Linked DNA regions of Homo sapiens: all the other regions are linked to region 3. The links are contacts of gene promoters, found by promoter capture Hi-C in blood cells and fetal thymus (Javierre and others, 2016). All regions are on one chromosome and are shown on one strand. Each heading gives the region's core, a stretch centred on a gene start or on the middle of the fragment in contact. The rest is flanking DNA. Distances are from core to core; before and after follow the strand shown.

What was found. The method cuts DNA at HindIII sites, captures the fragments that hold promoters and counts their contacts. A CHiCAGO score of 5 or more calls a contact.
Region 1: a contact is called between a fragment that was not itself captured here and the fragment with the promoter of THOC2 in region 3, in 1 of 17 cell types (M1 macrophages). The highest score is 5.5, in M1 macrophages.
Region 2: a fragment that was not itself captured here is called in contact with the fragment with the promoter of THOC2 in region 3 in 1 of 17 cell types (M2 macrophages); the score reaches 6.3 in M2 macrophages.

Annotation. Positions count from the first base shown.
Region 1 is chrX:123,624,513-123,627,348 of GRCh38, reverse strand. THOC2 (THO complex subunit 2) reads left to right here. Exons shown (of 39, transcript NM_001081550.2): 24 at 687-828; 25 at 1,280-1,437; 26 at 2,680-2,808. Among named protein-coding and RNA genes, the nearest start is that of THOC2, 110 kb to the left of the region's middle. The HindIII fragment of the contact is 1,132 bases long and covers 743-1,874 here.
Region 2 is chrX:123,664,386-123,667,230 of GRCh38, reverse strand. It overlaps THOC2 (THO complex subunit 2), which reads left to right. Exons shown (of 39, transcript NM_001081550.2): 11 at 1-125; 12 at 1,394-1,589. Among named protein-coding and RNA genes, the nearest start is that of THOC2, 67 kb to the left of the region's middle. The HindIII fragment of the contact is 4,946 bases long and covers 1-2,845 here.
Region 3 is chrX:123,731,638-123,734,337 of GRCh38, reverse strand. It overlaps THOC2 (THO complex subunit 2), which reads left to right and starts at 1,286. Exons shown (of 39, transcript NM_001081550.2): 1 at 1,286-1,386. The coding sequence starts at 1,316. RefSeq lists an enhancer at 1,271-1,350. The HindIII fragment of the contact is 10,140 bases long and covers 1-2,158 here.

The sequences.
Region 1 (2,836 bases), core at 59-2,558, 110 kb after region 3:
CTTGAAGGTAGATTAGGTTTGGAAATATGGAAGCAGATAGGGAGGTCACCATAGGGTTCCAGCAAAGACAGGAAGTAGATTGAGGTTTAGGGAGACCACTTTTACTGATTCACTTTCATGTAGTGAATGTACTTAGTGATTCATATGAATAGTTATGATGGGGCCAGATTATGTAGGCATTGGAAGTCAGGGAGAAAAGTAGACTTGGTAAAATTGAGAGCTATTTTAGATTCCTGAGCAGGATAGTAATGTAAAAAATGGTACTTAAAAAAGATTACTCATGACAGCAGTATGAAAGATGCTTTTTGACTAGCATTAGGCTAAAGACCAGCTAGGTGGCTTTTTGGGCAGTCTATTGTGAGAGCATAGACTGATGGAGGTAGTGGCAGTGTACAAGGCTTGTAAACCAGTCTTGATATAAAGGAGAGGGAAGAGTCAAAGATGACACCATGCCTGAGACTAATAGTGTCAGTGTTGCAAATGTAGCCTGTTCTGATGGTGTATGAAGATGCCATGACAGTGTTATGAGTGTGTTGAATGGAGATAAAAGTAGCACGTTCAAGTGGACCTATATTCATGTTAAAGTAGTTATAAACTATCAGCCTTTATCTCTTTAAACTTTTCAATTAAAAGAAGAAAGGTAATGTGCATATAGTTAGAAAAGTGTCTAATTGAATTCTTTGTAGCCCCCAAATAAAAAGAAAAAAGAGAAGGAGCGCTGTACTGCCCTTCAGGACAAGCTTCTTGAAGAAGAAAAGAAACAGATGGAACATGTACAGAGAGTTCTACAGAGATTGAAACTGGAAAAGGACAACTGGCTTTTAGCAAGTAAGTTGTTGGAATTGTTAGGTTCCTGATGCTGGTAAATTACAGAAAACAAAACATTATAACTTTAGAGGTGTTAAAGTGTATTATGTTTGTATTTCAACTCAGTGTTCCCTATCCCATTCTTTGGTTATTTGTTAATGCAGAATCAACTTCATGTTCACTGGAGGAACTGATATAGTTTGCTGGTGAAGTTAATTAACTTTTAACTACATATTGGCAGCTTGTCATTCAGCTTTTCTGTATAAAACATATTTCTGGAGAAATCATAGAAAAAAAGGTCCACATAGTAAAAATGATAATCATGACCAGGCATGACATTTGGTTACAAACTATAAATAGTTTGTGGTTTATAGTATTCTCTTCACTAAAGGTAATATGTTGTCATGTTTAGTGGCTTTGAGGCACTTGGGGAAGAAGTTTACCACTTAATATATTCTTCCTTTATTTTTAGAATCTACCAAAAATGAGACCATCACAAAATTTCTACAGCTGTGTATATTTCCTCGATGTATTTTTTCAGCAATTGATGCTGTTTACTGTGCTCGTTTTGTTGAATTGGTACATCAACAGAAAACTCCAAATTTTTCCACACTTCTTTGCTATGATCGAGTAAGTTTTTATTGCAACCTTTAAAAAGTTCTCACACAAAGATAGCTAACATTATAATTTATAGAGGTATTATTGTGTGTTTAGTTAAAAAGCATGAACTCAAGAACCAAGTGTCTGAACTTGAATCCTAGCTCTACTACTTTCTAGCTGTATGATCTTTGGCAAGTTATTTAACCTCTCTGTGCCTGTTTTCTTATCTGTAAAGCATAAGTACCTGCTTCATAAGATTGTTGTGAGGATTAAATGAATCACTACACATAAAAAGTACCTGATATGTAATAGGCACTCAAGGTTAAACTATTAACTAAGTATTTGAGTTTACGTGTTGTATCATAATAGGTAGAACTCTCTTCTCCATTCTTAACCTTCACTTCTCAAAAAAAAAAAAAAAGACAAAAAAGTTTACACCTTCACACACATATAAAAGCAGGGAAGCTTTTCAGTATGGTCATATGCACATTTTGCATTTAGCTTTTTTCTTATTACTACATTTTGTGGTTTAAAAACATAATGTGGCCGGGTGCGGTGGCTCATGCCTGTAATCCCAGTACTTCGGGAGGCCGAGGCGGGTGGATCACAAGGTCAGGAGATCGAGACCATCCTGGCTAACATGGTGAAACCCCGTCTCTACTAAAAAAAAAAATACAAAAAAATTAGCCGGGTGTGGTGGTGGGTGCCTGTAGTCCCAGCTACTCAGGAGGCTGAGGCAGGAGAATGGTGTGAACCTGAGACGCGGAGCTTGCAGTGAGCCTAGATCACACCACGGCCCTCCAGCCTGGGTGACAGAGTAAGACTCAGTCTCAAAACAAAACAAAACAAAACAAAAAACATAATGTATGTTCCAGTATGTCAGCTGCATATTTTTAATTTCTATCAGCATTTCCTCTGCTTACTCTCCCCGTAAACCCAGTAATATGTATGGCTAAGTGGTTAAGAAACTATTATGTAATAAAAAAAAAACAACTTATTATGTAATAATAATGATAAATTTTTTTTTCCTTGTCACTGTAAATCAGCTTTCTTTATAAAAGTTCTTGTTTTGGGTGGTTGTTTTATGAATGCATTATTTCCCCACAAAAGCCAAAATCTCCAAAGTTCTCTGCAGTGTCATTATATAAAGGGAATATACATTTTGACTAGGCTTACCTGTTTATTATGACTTGCTGTAAGAGAATCTTCTAATATTTTTAACTGATTTTGACCTTGATTTGTTTATATTTTTTAAACATTTTTCTCCTGTAGGTTTTCTCTGACATAATTTACACAGTTGCAAGCTGTACTGAAAATGAAGCCAGTCGATACGGAAGGTTTCTTTGCTGCATGTTAGAGACTGTGACCAGGTGGCATAGTGATAGAGCCACATATGAAAAGGTATGACTAATAAAAACCCTTATATTTT
Region 2 (2,845 bases), core at 217-2,716, 67 kb after region 3:
GGTGATTGGCAACATGCACAGAACATTATGGATCAGATGCCTCCATACTATGCAGCTTCACACAAGCTAATAGCCCTTGCTATTTGCAAGCTCATTCATATAACTATTGAGCCTCTCTACCGAAGGTATGTAACTTTATACTTTATTAATCATTGAGGTAGAAATAGCTTAGGACTACAACAAAATGTATATTTATCTTATCTCCTCAAACCAAGCATATATTTTAGTACCTTTTATCAAAAGATAAGAACTATTCACAGAGTGTATCAGTCTGATATATATTAATCAGTGACTTGTCTTCTAACGTCTAGACCAGGGGTTCTAGAATGTGTGCTGCAGTGTAGTCTGAAAACTACAAGTTAGACTTCTAGGTTGGGTTTGTTCCATTGAGAGTTGAAACTCCATTCTTCTGGTTTTGACTTTCCCTCCTTTCAGTGGGTGGGAGGGGCAAAGAATTCCTGAGGTTTTTTCTTAGTGTAATTTTTCTCCATCCTGGCTGAGTGGCTCTGAGTGAGGACATTGCCTCTCTGATTCCCTTACCTTTCCTGGCATATAGGCTGCTGTTCTGGAAATTAGTAGTTTAGCCTCTCTTATCATCCCCAGTTACTATGTCATCTAGTCCTTTAGCTTTCTGCCTACTTGCAGGATACTTAGGAGCAGTATTGATAGCAGCTGTGGCTACAGCCCCATAGATCAGAGCCTGCCTCAAAAGCCTCAGCCTTGTGACTTTTGTGTAGCTGCTGGTTGCTGCCGTCAGTGTCACTTCATGGGCCGTGGACCATGCAGGCTTCTTAGAGAGTGACCCCTGTGACTCCACAGTGGGGCACCTGCTGAGCAGGTGAGAACTCTGGGTATGGTGTCCTAAAGTGACCTTCTTTTATTACATGGCTCACTTTCCCTACGACCACATTCTACATACCCTAGGTTGTGGAATCCAGATTGAGAAATGTCAGTTGACTTGAATCAGTGTTGTTATATCCATATTTTTCTGTTTCATCTTCCAGTGCATCTTAGGTCCATCCCTTGTTGCCCATTCCCATATCCAAGTTCCCGATACCGGCCAAGTTTAAAAACAGATTCAGATGGTGTGTGTTAAATGTTCCTTGAAATCCACACTTCTCTGATTAAGCAGTTAATTTGGAACATTCTCCTCTGAGCTCTGATTTTTTTTTTCTAATGACTGTTGTTTTTATGTGTTTCTACCAGTTGAGAATTATCTGGTGTAATAAAGTTAGGCACAATTGAAATGTAGAAAGCAAATATGAGCAAGAAAAAATTTCACTGATTAAGATAACTTTGTTAAAATGGTAGATATTGTAGTGTGTGTGTATATAGTTATATTTATTATATACTTATTTATTTGTTTATTTATTTATTTTACTTTTTAAAATAGAGTTGGAGTTCCTAAAGGTGCTAAAGGCTCACCTGTTAATGCTTTGCAAAACAAGAGAGCACCAAAACAAGCTGAGAGCTTTGAAGATTTGAGGAGAGACGTGTTCAATATGTTCTGTTACCTTGGTCCTCACCTTTCTCACGATCCCATTTTATTTGCAAAAGTGGTGCGCATAGGCAAGTCATTTATGAAGGAGGTAAGTAAGATTTTTCTTACAAACCTAAATTTTGAAATGAAAATATTCTGAGTATACTTGTGTTATGAGTATCTTTAGAAATAAAAATATGAACCTCATTTAATAAAGGGTTATGTTGAGTGAGGTTTGTGGAAAATTCCAGTGTGTCCTAACCATATGCAGTCAAGTGTTGCTTAATGACAGGTGAGAAATGCATCATTAGGTGATTCGTCATTGTGCAAACATCAGAGAGTGTACTTATACAAGCCTAGATGGTATGACCTACTACATACCTAGACTATATGGTATGGCCCGTTACTCCTAGGCTACAAACCTGTACAGAATGTTCCCGTACTGAATACTGTGGGGAGTTGTAATACACTGTTAAATATTTGTGTATCTGAACATATCTAAACATTTAAAAGGTAATACCTTGCACTAAGATGTTAGGACAGCCATGATATCACTAGGCAATAGGAATTTTTTAGCTCTAATATAATGTTATATGACCCTGGTCATATATGTGGTCCATCAACCGAAACATTGTTAAATGGTGCATAACTGTATATATTAATATAAACCCAAATCTAGCGAGATTATTAGTCAAGTCCCTCACATGGGAAAATATACTTCAGACAAGTGGCTGCTTTTTTAATTCCCTTATGATTAGTGGTTACTTAGCATTCTTTTCCTTCTAGTCATTTTCTTGAGTGTAGTTTTCAATCATTGCTGCTATGTGTAAGAAGTCTTTTCAGCCTCAGACTGTTAAGGACCCATTCTTTTATTTATTTATTCTTTTACTAAGATTTTTATTGAAATAAAACATACATACGGAAAAATACAGCTCAGTGACTTTCCCTAAACTAAGCACCCATATGTCCACTACCCAACTCAAATAGTTTACAGTCCCACCAACAGTGTGAAAGTGTTCCTATTTCTCCACCTCCTCTCCAGCACCTGTTGTTTTCTGACTTTTTAATGATCGCCATTCTAACTGGTGTGAGATGGTATCTCATTGTGGTTTTGATTTGCGTTTCTCTGATGGCCAGTGTTGAGCATTTTTTCATGTGTCTGTTGGCTGCATAAATGTCTTCTTTTGAGAAGTGTCTGTTCATATCCTTCGCCCACTTGTTGATGGGGTTGTTTGTTTTTTCTTCTAAATTTGTTTGAGTTCTTTGTAGATTCTGGATATTAGCCCTTTGTCAGATGAGTAGATTGCAAAAATTTTCTACCATTCTGTAGGTTGCCAGTTCACTCTGATGGTAGTTTCTTTTGCT
Region 3 (2,700 bases), core at 37-2,536:
GCCGGCCGGGCGGAGACGCTCTTCACCTCTCAGACGGGGCGGCTGCCGGGCGGAGGGTCTCCTCACTTCTCAGACGGGGCGGCCGGGCAGAGACGCTCTTCACCTCCCAGACGGGGTCGCGGCCGGGCAGAGGCGCTCCTCACATCCCAGACGGGGCGGCGGGGCAGAGGCACTCCCCACATCTCAGACGATGGGCGGCCAGGCAGAGACGCTCCTCACTTCATCCCAGACGATGGGCAGCCGGGCAGAGACGCTCCTCACTTCCTAGACAGGATGGCGGCCGGGCAGAGACGCTCCTCACTTTCCAGACTGGGCAGCCAGGCAGAGGGGCTCCTCACATCCCAGACGATGGGCGGCCAGGCAGAGAGGCTCCTCACTTCCCAGACGGGGTGGCGGCCGGGCAAAGGCTGCAATCTCGGCACTTTGGGAGGCCAAGGCAGGCGGCTGGGAGGTGGAGGTTGCAGCGAGCCGAGATCACGCCACTGCACCCCAGCCTGGGCACCATTGAGCACTGAGTGAACGAGACTCCGTCTGCAATCCCGGCACCTCGGGAGGCCGAGGCTGGCGGATCACTCGCGGTTAGGAGCTGGAGACCAGCCCGGCCAACACAGCGAAACCCCGTCTCCACCAAAAAAATACGAAAAACAGTCAGGCGTGGCGGCGCGCACCTGCAATCGCAGGCACTCGGCAGGCTGAGGCAGGAGAATCAGGCAGGGAGGTTGCAGTGAGCCGAGATGGCAGTACAGTCCAGCTTTGGCTCGGCATCAGAGGGAGACTGTGGAAAGAGAGGGAGAGGGAGACCGTGGGGAGAGGGAGACGGGAGAGGGAGACGGGAGAGGGAGAGGGAGAAGGAGAGGGACCCGATTATTTTCTTTTATCTCAGCAGTCAGCAGGGCGTAATGTAATTTATTTGCTTATATTTATGGCTTTCCCAAAGACTATTATTTCTCTATTCCCAGTGTCTAGCACATATTAGGTGCTTGAAAAATGCGTGTTTGTATTAGTGGTTAGGGGTAGATATTACGGAAGAAGATGAAGTCTACTTGTTGGCCTGTGGATGGCATTTCTCTGTTCTAATGGGAAGTAAGGCCGAAGACTTCGGAGGGCGCAACCCGTGTAGTAACCTCGCAAAGGGGCCCGCGAGTCTCCACGTCGTTGGCTGCCTTGCCTCGGGTTTCCGCTGGGTGGAGAGGAAAGTGGGGCGGGAAATCGAAAAACGAACTCTCAGCTCCCGGCATTCCTCGTGGGCGGTGCTCCCCTTTGACCCTTCGCTCGCGTGCTACACATCCGGGCTTCTGCTACTAGTGAGAGGAAGATGGCGGCCGCGGCTGTGGTGGTTCCCGCAGAGTGGATAAAGAACTGGGAGAAATCAGGGAGAGGCGAATTGTGAGTGTTCGGGCCGGAGGCAGGCGCACTGCCGGGCCGGGCCAGGGCGTCAGCTGCACTCTCACCTGTAGTGGGAGGTTGAGGGGGAAAGATGTACCCCCTCCCCCACCCGGGCGGCGGGCGTGGATGGTCGTCTAGGAGTTTCGAACTCGGGGAGAGGTGCTGTTTACCGCCGCGGACCTCCTTCCTTCCCTGGCCTCCCAGAAATCGCTACTGCCTGCGGTAGCTCGGCTTCCTTTAGCCTCTTAGTAGAACTCTTATTCCGCCCCTGCAGGTCTCCGCGCTCCCTCTTGGTCTCTTTTTGTGTCCCCCTCTTCGCTTGATCTCACTTGGCTCCTTTATCTTTATGGGGCTGAGCCGGGGCAATTCGGACTTTCCATCTCTCTCTGTGCCATTTCTTCACTCTGCACCCGTTGGACTCCGCAGTTTGGAGCTTGGCGCCTCCTCTGCCTGAAGTCCAAGGAGGGCGAACCGTCCCGGATTCCCCTCCCCTCCTCTTCGCCCGCTGCCGCGAAGCCCGGGGCGCCGCGAAGAACCCGGTTTGGCACCTCTCGCCCTCCCGGGGAGCGGTCTCTCGACTGTCCCGGCCTCGCGTAGCGCCGTGGGGAAGTGTGGCAGGGATTGCCGCTTTCCCTGAAGAACCACCGACATTTCTTTGCTCCGTCTTTTCACCTTAGAGCTATTTCGGGTTGGATTCAACTTTCGTCATTAAATGTTCCCTAAACCCCATTTTATCCTGGGACTGCAACTAATTCTGGCAGCTCTCCAAGCTTCTCCAGTACCTAGGATAACGCGTTTCCTTTAGTCGTGAAACTTTCCCCCGTAACACCGAAAACAGTAATTTGCCATACCCCTAGTCTTCTCGCCCCCACGTTAGAGCGCTCCCTCCTCCCCTTCCCCTGGAAGGAGTCGTTTAAGCAGCAAAGCAAACCTCAGATATAAGAACAAATATTAATAACATCTCATTTCCTTCTCTGGGTCGCTTTTAGATGCTAAAGCTCAACCCTGGATGAAATTAACCCTCGTTAGCCATTTTTGTCGTCCTTGCCCACCCCTCTCCATTTCTAGTAGCCAGTTTACCGTGGCTCATGCTAAAGATTCAAATCTTTGTAACTTCGTTACTTGGAACGAAACACGAGGAACGCGTTGCCGGATCCCGCGCTTGTAATAGTGCCAGCCTATGTGGCTTCCTCCCCCGCACCCCCCGCACTGCTGTATGAAGTCTTAACAGTGTGAGCTCTAGAATTCCCTAAATAAGCGGCTGTCTTAGCCACTTAAGTAGCTGAGTGACCTTGGGTAAGTTCCTTAACCACT